Regions from separate parts of the Homo sapiens genome. Here region 1 is linked to region 2. Evidence: promoter capture Hi-C in 16 types of primary human blood cells and fetal thymus (Javierre and others, 2016). All regions are on one chromosome and are shown on one strand. Each heading gives the region's core, a stretch centred on a gene start or on the middle of the fragment in contact. The rest is flanking DNA. Distances are from core to core; before and after follow the strand shown. Region 1 overlaps LINC01392 (long intergenic non-protein coding RNA 1392). Region 2 holds the start of MDFIC (MyoD family inhibitor domain containing).

What was found. Contacts are between HindIII fragments. The CHiCAGO score rates a contact against its expected background, and 5 or more counts as called.
Region 1: a fragment that was not itself captured here is called in contact with the fragment with the promoter of MDFIC in region 2 in 3 of 17 cell types (activated CD4 T cells, M0 macrophages and total CD4 T cells); the score reaches 5.6 in activated CD4 T cells.

What each region holds. Positions count from the first base shown.
Region 1 is chr7:115,214,694-115,219,426 of GRCh38, reverse strand. The region is part of intron 1 of LINC01392 (long intergenic non-protein coding RNA 1392); the gene reads left to right. Among named protein-coding and RNA genes, the nearest start is that of LINC01392, 14 kb to the left of the region's middle. RefSeq lists an enhancer at 2,312-2,868. The HindIII fragment of the contact is 2,216 bases long and covers 953-3,168 here.
Region 2 is chr7:114,919,448-114,924,066 of GRCh38, reverse strand. MDFIC (MyoD family inhibitor domain containing) reads right to left here and starts at 1,973. Exons shown (of 5, transcript NM_001166345.3): 1 at 1,431-1,973; 2 at 940-1,140. The coding sequence starts at 1,033. RefSeq lists silencers at 954-1,093, 1,324-1,503, 1,514-1,563, 1,894-2,033. The HindIII fragment of the contact is 10,461 bases long and covers 916-4,619 here.

The DNA.
Region 1 (4,733 bases), core at 811-3,310, 300 kb before region 2:
TAACTCTGCTTGCAAGAGCCAGAAAAAGCATTGCAAGGTATATTCTTCAATGGGATATTGAAGGATAACTAGGAGGTTTCCAGATTTATGGAGAGTAGTAGGATAAACAAAGAGAAAGAAATATGCTTATTGGCTTAGAGCTGTGAACTAGTATGGGGGAACTTAGAGGAATCACCAGGCAATGGAAGAAATGATGCTGGATAAGTAATGATAATAAGTTAATCTTAATTGAGCACTTCCTAAGTTTTCAAGCACTCTGTGTGCATTATTTCTGATGCTCACAGTGGCCCTAAATAATATACTAACCCAGTTTTACAGATGAATGAAGTGAAGCTCAGAAGAGTAATAGGTTTGATAATAAGCATGGGTAGAACTGGAATTCCAGCCCATTGGTCTCCATTACTGCACTGATTCTGTTGTCCAGCCCACTAATGTGTCATGAGCATGCAGATGTATGTATTTCACCTTGTAACAGAGAGAGAGAAAGAGAAAGAGATCTCAATGGAGAGCAAGGTCCCAGAATAATCTCAGTATGCTGGTAACAATTATAAAAAAGAACAAAATTGTCCTATGCTTCAGATAGGCGAATTAACTTTAGATTCTAGATTTGATACAAATGATTGTTTAGTGCTTATAATATTCTAGCTACTTTCCTAGGATCCTTTCTTTCTATCAGTGACAAAAAGTCACACATAGTCCTTACTTCAAATAACTTCAAGTCTTCTACAATAGATTCCTAGATAAATAATGAGGGAGACCTGTATTCTAATTTTATTCTGCTACCCACTTTGAATCAGCCAAAGGTTGACTTAAATATTGTTGTGCCTACTTTTTTCATAAATGCATAAGGAATTGTAACCTGTATTGTAAAGATGAATGATTATTTCATTTTTTTACAAAGAAAAAAATGACAGAAACTGAAGGATATGCTTCAAAAGTACTATAACAAGCTTATCAAGCTAGAAGTCTTTTTTTTTTCAAGAATCCTAATCATTCTAACTACAGAAAAAATTCTAGATTATAGCATTTAAAATCTTCAATAAATTGATAATAATCAGCACAGAGTAGCTTCTCTGTGTTATGCTAAGGATGATCTGACTCAACCAGACAACAACAAATTCTGCTTAAATTAGAATCTGCAAAGACATAGAACAGGTTTTGCTTGTTTCCAGAACTTTAGCTTGAGTATAAGTTTTGGAGATATATGTCTGTGTCTATGAGTCTGAGTTATTCACTCATTCAACAAGATTTAAGGTGCCATACACTTCCAGATATCATCGACTGCTAGTAAATGCTAATTAACAAGCAAGTAAACTGGAAAAATATCAAATGGAATACCTTAATGAGTGATATTACAGAGAAAAAAATGGAATATTTGCTTAGTAATTTAAGTAAATGGATATTATTTTCTAATATAAATTGGTAGTATATTCACTTAATATTTTTAAGGAAAAAAAACAGAAAAATACTTAGCATTTTACTACCACATTCAGAAAAATTGCAAGATTAGCTTGAAACTTTTAAAATCTCTAACCATTGAGTAATTTGAGTTTGACATATTTAATCACTGGACTATATATTAGAATGTATACTTCACGTATTGTTTTAAGTAACCTGGGCTAAGATGAGCTTCTCTAGACTTTTTAGGTCTTCAAACACATTCTAGTCACCAATATTAAATCTTCATACTAAAATATCAAAAATAAATGCGATATTTTTTAAATCTCCAAAAAGGCTGTCTTGGATCTAGGTCAGGCAGTGAATACCCTGATACATGTGAATATACAGTAGTAATCCCTTTCTCTGATTATAGCTAGACTCACTCTTTTTTACTTTTGGGTCACAGTTATATCTTACATAATCCAGCAGAGGGTGCTTCCTTTTTAGGGTTGGATTAGAATTAAATATGATAGGCAAAAAGTTAAAATCTTTTCATATTTCATTTCCAGTGATTGATTAAATCAAATCCCCTTGTAGTTTAATATATTTTCAGAAGTTTCCTAAGGATAGTTATCTTCATGCAGCATCACATGTTTTAACCAGCAATTACATAACAACAGTGTATGTGCACCTTTAACATGTTTACTGTCCTATTTTCCTTCTCGATTAGAAGTTATGATCCCTACTCAAAAGTTCCAGGTATATTCAACATAGGGACACTTTTGTTTAATAGTACTCCTTCCACTCTGGGAATATATAAGAAGTGTTGCTGCCATTTACAAAAACTATGTGTGTAAGTTGTGTGTCTGCACGTGTGTTTAGGAAGAAAAAAAAGGAGCTTTCTTTGAGAGAATTCTCCAAAACAAAAGCATAGTTTCAGAGCATTCACAACATCATTGGCCATGCTAAGAGTAGATGAAAATGTGTAACCTCTTCTCAAGAGCTAAATGGCCAGGTTTCAAGGAATAGTTCATTTTCTTAAGTGTGTGGCCCTGAATTTCCCTGCTGCATAAGAGTAGTTCCCGAAATTGTCATCTCAGGAGGATCCTAGTATTTTTTTTTTAATTCTTTTGCAGCAAGTCACCTAGTTCTGAAGTAGCTGGCCTTGCACAGAAGGTTCTGCTAAGGAATGTGAGGTACTCAAAATGGCTTTGAATCACACTTCTCAGAAGAGACAACCACAGGCATTACAAAGGAGAAAGCTGGAGTAGTCTCAGCTATCAAGTTAGCTTCAAGAGATTTTTCCCTCCCACCACTTTATGTATGATAGTGCAGTCAAATTTAATAAATGGAGATTATATTTCCCTGAGTATCTTGCAAGCAGACTCAAAAGCAGATTTTGCTTTTGAATCCCCTTCCATCTCAAATTATTACTGTTAAAAGTTGTACACCCGTATGGAAGACAGGCATTTCTGGAAATACAAAATAGTAGGAAATCTGTATCTTTGAGTGCTGAGCTAGCCCACACTAGAAGCAAAATACAAAGCTAAGAAAATGAGCTGGTTTTGGTGAGCAAATGTTTTATATCTGCACACAAGAAAACTGAGGACAGCTCTAACTTTAAATCCCATTAGAAAATGCTGTGATTAACTGCAGGACCCCACTGATTTTTCAGGTAATAGATGAACATGCCACAGTGAAATATTTCCCCTTCTTTATTTACAAACAAAAGAGGATTTTTATGTGGACAGAAATCAAAACATTACTGAAGCACTGGTTGCCTAAGCTTAAATTCTTTCACATTAACACAGATGCTTTATTATGTAACGTCAACATCTTCCATATTTTTGAATGGTTTTGAATGGTATAATCTGTAATATTTTGTGATTTCCCTTAAAATGGGTTGGTTTCTTCAGAAAGAATTCTGGACCTACAACATAATGAAGTAATTAACTAGAGAACAAAAGGTTTTTCTTTTGTTTCAGAAAAAACTTGCTTCTAAGACACAAGTTACACATGCATTATTTTTAGGACCATCAGCCTTGCCCTGGATGATGATTTTGTTGTCAGAAATGTTTTTATTATTTTCTGCAATACCAAAAAGACCCGACAAAACATTAATAGGATGATTGAGATAAAATGTGCTATATGTTGTTATGTTGCTTTTATAAATATTTTGGATTTGCCAATGTGATAGACTTTGATAAATCATAATATTTCTACAACTTAAAATCATTAACATCTATTTTGACTGATATCTATGTTAGGTAAGAACTACAAATTATATTGTAGACAAATGACTTAGAAAATCATATGCAAACAATTCAAAATATACTTAATTAAAATGCATTTTAAAAGTCCTTAACTGAAATAAAAATAAAAGTGCATTTTTTAAGAGTGTTGCCCCCACAATCCTTGGCTCACAGAATTTTATATATATATATATATATATATATATATATATATATATATATATATATATATACTATATATACACACACATACACACACACACACAAATATGCGTTTATATATATACAAATATGCATATATATATACACACACACAAACACATATATATATATGTGTTTTACACATACACATATATGTATTTTAGATGGAGTCTAGCTCTGTCGCCCAGGCTGGAGAGCAGTGGCACGATCTCAGCTCACCGCAGCCTCTGTCTCCTGGGTTCAAGCGATTCTCCTGCCTCAGCCTCCCGAGTAGCTGGAATTACAGGTGCTGGCCACCACAGCCAGCTAATTATTGAATTTTTAGTAGAGACGGGATTTCACTTGGCCAGGCTGGTCTTGAACTCCTGACCTCGTGATCCACTCACCTCAGCCTCCCAAAGTGCTGGCATTACAAGCATGAGCCACTGCACCCGGCCATAGAATTATATTAAACTTCACTATCACATTTTTCACTTCACAGCACATGCTATTCCCAAGTGTGAAACCCTTTATTATATAAGATGTGCTGCAAGAAGTGAGAGGAGTAAAAAAGGTAAAGAACCCAAGGAAAAGTTCCAAAAATGGCAAACTGTCAGCCTGCAAGAAGAGTTTGCCTCATTGACATATTTAATTAGCTTTTTCATGTTGACTAACATACTGCAATTTGGGAATTGGTTGTTGTGATGATATATGGCCCCCAAATATGTCTATATCCTAATTGCCAACACCTGCAAATGTTGCCTTATATGGCAATAGGGATTTTGCAGATATGATTAAGGATTTTGAGATGGGAAGATCATCCTGGATTATCACGGTGGGTCTGATGTAATCAGAACAGTCTTTATGAGAGATGAGATGCTGGAGGAGTCAGAGTCAGACAGAAAGAGATGTGAAAACAGA
Region 2 (4,619 bases), core at 724-3,223:
TTTTACCTATTGCAGCTTGAAAGTTAACTCCTTCTCCAATTTTTGCTGCCTTAAAAAAAATCCCTAAGATTCACTACATTAGTACAAGTGGGAAATAAAGCTATCAGTTTATGCCTAAAATCAGGGGTATATGCTAGGTTTTTGAGCACTGGAAAAATTACTTAGTTCTGATATATCAGTGACAGAATTCTTTAGCTCAAAACCATCCTTAGAGTAAAATGCATTAGAAGTTTAAGAACCTTCCTCTCTGTCACCAATGGAAACCTAAAGTATATTGCCTTCAAGAGAAGAAAGGTTCAACTCGTTTAGAAGCTTGTTATGGAAGTTTCCCAGACACAAGAGTATTTTATAGGCTGTGTGTGTTTACACTTTGGAAGAACACAAAGAAGCTAATTCATTCTTGGAAAGTGTTTCTTATAAACCTTGTTTATTTATTTCAAAACAAACCAGTTATTGAAAACAAGCATAAGCCATTCCAAAGCTACTGGTCACAGAAACCTGAATTATCAACCGGGTGGTAGAGGAGCCAACAAGAAACAGAAAGATGAAATGGAGTAAGTGCACGCTTGTTCAGAGAGCTGCGGCAGTCCTGGATCTGCTGAAGAGACCTAGAGGAGAAGCGCTTCAGAACCTACACATTGAGTCTTAGGCCCAAACATGCATATGCTTAAGAAAGAAGCAATCCTGTCATCCTGTTTCTTCGCAACCAAAGGAAGGGGGAGTGGAGGGACCAACGGTTCCCGCCCTCTTACCCGGTTGTTGATCTAGGGCAAGGATCCTGAAGAACTTGCCTGAGTAACGCGAACTGTGCAAAAGTTCTCAACTACGAGTGGGAGCCCCTCCTCACAGCACTCCCCCCACCCCTATCTGTGCACTTGTGAGCAAACTGAAAAATGCAACAATGACAAAGAAGCTTGCCACTTGCAAGCGCGCACTCACCCTGGGCTGTGGAGCCCAGCTGGCCGCCGCCCGCCTCGGCCACGCGCTGCGGCCCCACGGGCCCGGGAGCGAGGGCTTCGCCCGCGCCGGACATGGGCCGCTCCGCCGAGCCCGCGCCGCGCCGCTGCCGCCTAGCTCGCCGCCCGGCAGGGCGCACGGAGGAAGGGCTGTGAGGTGCTGGGTGCAGGGAACTGACTGCTTCTGGCGGAAAAATATACAAAATTAAAAAAAAAAATGTTTTTAGAGAAGAGCACACCACCCCTGCGGGACGTTCCCTCCCCCTCCACTTCCCTCCCTCAAACTCCACCCCGGGGAAGTTTTGATTTGAAACTTGCGAAGAAAACTGTTACAGCGCAAGTTGACAGCGGCGGGGTCCCAGGGGTCCGAGGTGGACCCAGCGGGGAGGGGCTGGAAAGAGAGATCGGGTTTGGGAGAACCCCGGGGATGGGGATCAAACCCCTCCTCTTCCCCGCCCGGAGACCACTACCTACCTCCGCATCCCCCCGTAGTCGCTCCAAGCCCCTTCCTCCTCCTCCTCCTCCTCTTCCGCCCCGGAAAGTTAGCGAGCCTCCGGCAGCGGCCGCATTTTCGCCCCGGTGGCCTGACGACGGCGGCGGCCGCCCCTGCGCGTCCTCCCGCCTCCCTCCGGCTCAGCCCAGACGCCGCAGTGGCGGCAACTGCGGCAGCGGTGGCGGCTCTGACTCCGCGCACTCCGCCCCCTCTTTCCAGCCAGCTCACTCCAGCCGGCTCCCCTGCGAGGGGGCCTTCCCCCTCTCTGCCTCTCTTTCCCCTCTTCCACTCCTACAATCCTGAAACACTTCTCCCTCTGTTGCTCTTTTTCATCACATCCGGATCGGGAAGGCCTCGAACTCTTGGCTAGCGGCCCCGATGCTGGGAGCGGCGCGACCCGGGCTCGGCCGCGCGATCCCTCGCGCCCTGCGCTGTCTGGGTCAGGAGGCCAGAGCCGGCCTGGGCTGGCTCGGGCTCCCCACCCGGGCGCTGCGCCCTCCCGGGGCTGGGAAAGGGGAGTGAATGGGCAGGTCCCTGGCTGCCCAGACGTTCCCCCCACCCCGCCCAAAAAGTCACCTCATCCCTTCTCCCTACTCCTGCCCCCAGACCGACGGAGGCTTTGGGAATATCCTGACGAAAACCTTTAGGGTGGACAAGGAAAAACGAAAACACTGTTACAGTATCGAACTTTCCTGGTGGGATAGAGAACGTGTGCGTTTGAAACCTTGACCCCTCGGTTGAACGTTTACTCACTTCATCTCTGGCTCCTAAATTACTCTTTGGTCAAACAGTATTCCTGATGTAAAACCAGTTGCAGTTTGCGCGAATCTGCTGGAGGCATCCAGGCAAACAAGGTTGGCACCCTTGCGGATGCCGTGGTACTGGCCCCAGCCTGGCCTATGGCAAGCTAAATGCCTCACTGGATCAGTGGTATCTGAGGGGAGATAAACTTGTGGTCGGAAGTAAAAAGCTGATCAACTTTCCGTTTATAAATGAGACATTCTGATTGTAGCTTAATCTGATGAGCCGAGGATAGCAAGTGTAAAGTAATTTACAGATATATAGTACTTTAGTGGTATACTCAGATAACTTTTGCTCTTTTATTTCATTGTGAATGAAATGCAGAATTCATTTGTAGAAAGCTAGAACGAACTCATTCTTCGATTCTTTTGGACAAGCGAGGAATCACAGTAACGTTATCAAAACTGAAGAAAATGTGCATTGGATTCACTGTCTTTCTATGTGCATCATTAATAATATCCCAGAAATTTCATTTTTTCAAAAAGCTCATTGGAATTTATTCCAATTGATTACAAAGATTTACTTGTTACCTATGAAGAGACAGTGCATTCTAACTTGATTTCAATGATGGTAAAAAAGCCAGCCTTCGGCCGGGAGCGGTGGCTCACGCCTGTAATCCCAGCACTTTGGGAGGCCGAGGCAGGTGGATCACCTGAGGTCAAGAGTTCGAGACCAGCCTGGCCAACATGGTGAAACCCAATCTCTACTAAAAATACAAATATTAGCTGAGCATTGTGGCGGGCGCCAGTAATTCTAGCTACTGGGAGGCTGAAGCAGGAGAATCGCTTGAACACAGGAGGCAAAGGTTGCAGTGAGAAGAAATTGTGCCATTGCACTCCAGCCTGGGCGACAAGAGCAAGACTCCATTTAAAAAAAAAAAAAAAAAAAAAAAAACAGCCTTCAAAGTTGCTGATGACAGTCATTCAGACCATTCTCCCCAAAAAGACAAATGACATTTTGCCCCATTACACATAACTAACATTTTTTTTTCACTTGGAGATTTCAGAAATGGTATGAAATCAAGTGCATTACCTCTCTTGAAAACTTATCTAGGAGCCTGGACTGTTTGGAATTTGTCTGATGGAAGCAGATCAGTTCTGAAGATGACTTCATCACCACTAGAGAACAAACATTTAGGACGTCTCAGAGTTCACTGCAGCATCATCTGCACTCAAAGGAGTTGTTTACCTGCTCTGGAAAATTCTGTTTTATCCCTGTATCATTCCTTGCCCTATTTTTAAAATTCTCTCACAAAGATGTTAAAGTCCAATAATATAAAGAAGTTACAGCTTTCTTCTAGAAAGTCATAATCAATGATAAGTATTTGTTCATTTAATTTCACACAGTCCTTAATATTGCACACGTGGTGGGTGATTCCATAGATATTCCTTAAATTAAATTTTAAAATCTTTAATGGAGAAGACATAAAATTAAAATAACATTAGGAGCAAATGAGAAGCTGTAGGGTAGCATCACCAAGGTTGTCAAATACTGTACCTCATTCAGCTGTGTGACTTTGGACAGTTAGTCACCCACTCTATACCTTGGTTGCCTCATAATATGAGAATGAAATTCTTCATAGAGTTTCTTTTTGAGCACTAAGTAAGGTAGTTTTCCTATAAAATTTGGAAGACTCTCAAGGGAAAAGGTGTTCAAAAGTATCAACTATTATTACTATTATACACGGAAGCATCTTGATGGGTAAAGCTGAGCATGGCATAATGACTGTATCAAAAGGGTCATATCAAAATACCAGTTTGTCATGCCATGCACCTGACGCAAATGATCTCAATGAATTCTTCCATCGGCCCTATAAGTAAATTGCCAGGATTGTACCTTCAGGATTAGAACTCAGGTCTGTCTCTCTTCCAGGCTATCCTGCATCCCTAGGTAACTCAGGTCTTCCTTCTGGAGGACCTAGAAGTGGTCTTAATGCCATTAACCTGGTGTCTGATATGCCAGAAGTTAAGTGTGGGCTCCTGAGTGTCCCTCACGCCTCCCATTTCCCACATCCCTGGCTGCACTTGCTTGTTCTGATTGCTTCATTTGTTTACTGACAAGCACTCCAGTACGTTCATCTCTCATTCTTTCACTCAGTGTCACGAACTGAAAGTTTGTGTTTCCCCAAAATTCATATGCTAAAATCTTAGCCCCTAATGTCATGGTGTTAGTAAGTGGGGCCTTTGGGAGGTAGTTAGGTCATAAGAGTGGAGCCCTCATGAATGGAATTAATGTCCTTACAAAAAGACACAAGAGGCCAGGTGTGGTGGCTCACACTGAGGCAGGGAGATCTTTTGAGGCCAGCACTCTAGGACCAGCCTGGGCAACATAGAAAGACCCCATCTCTACAAAATTGTTTTTAAAAAATT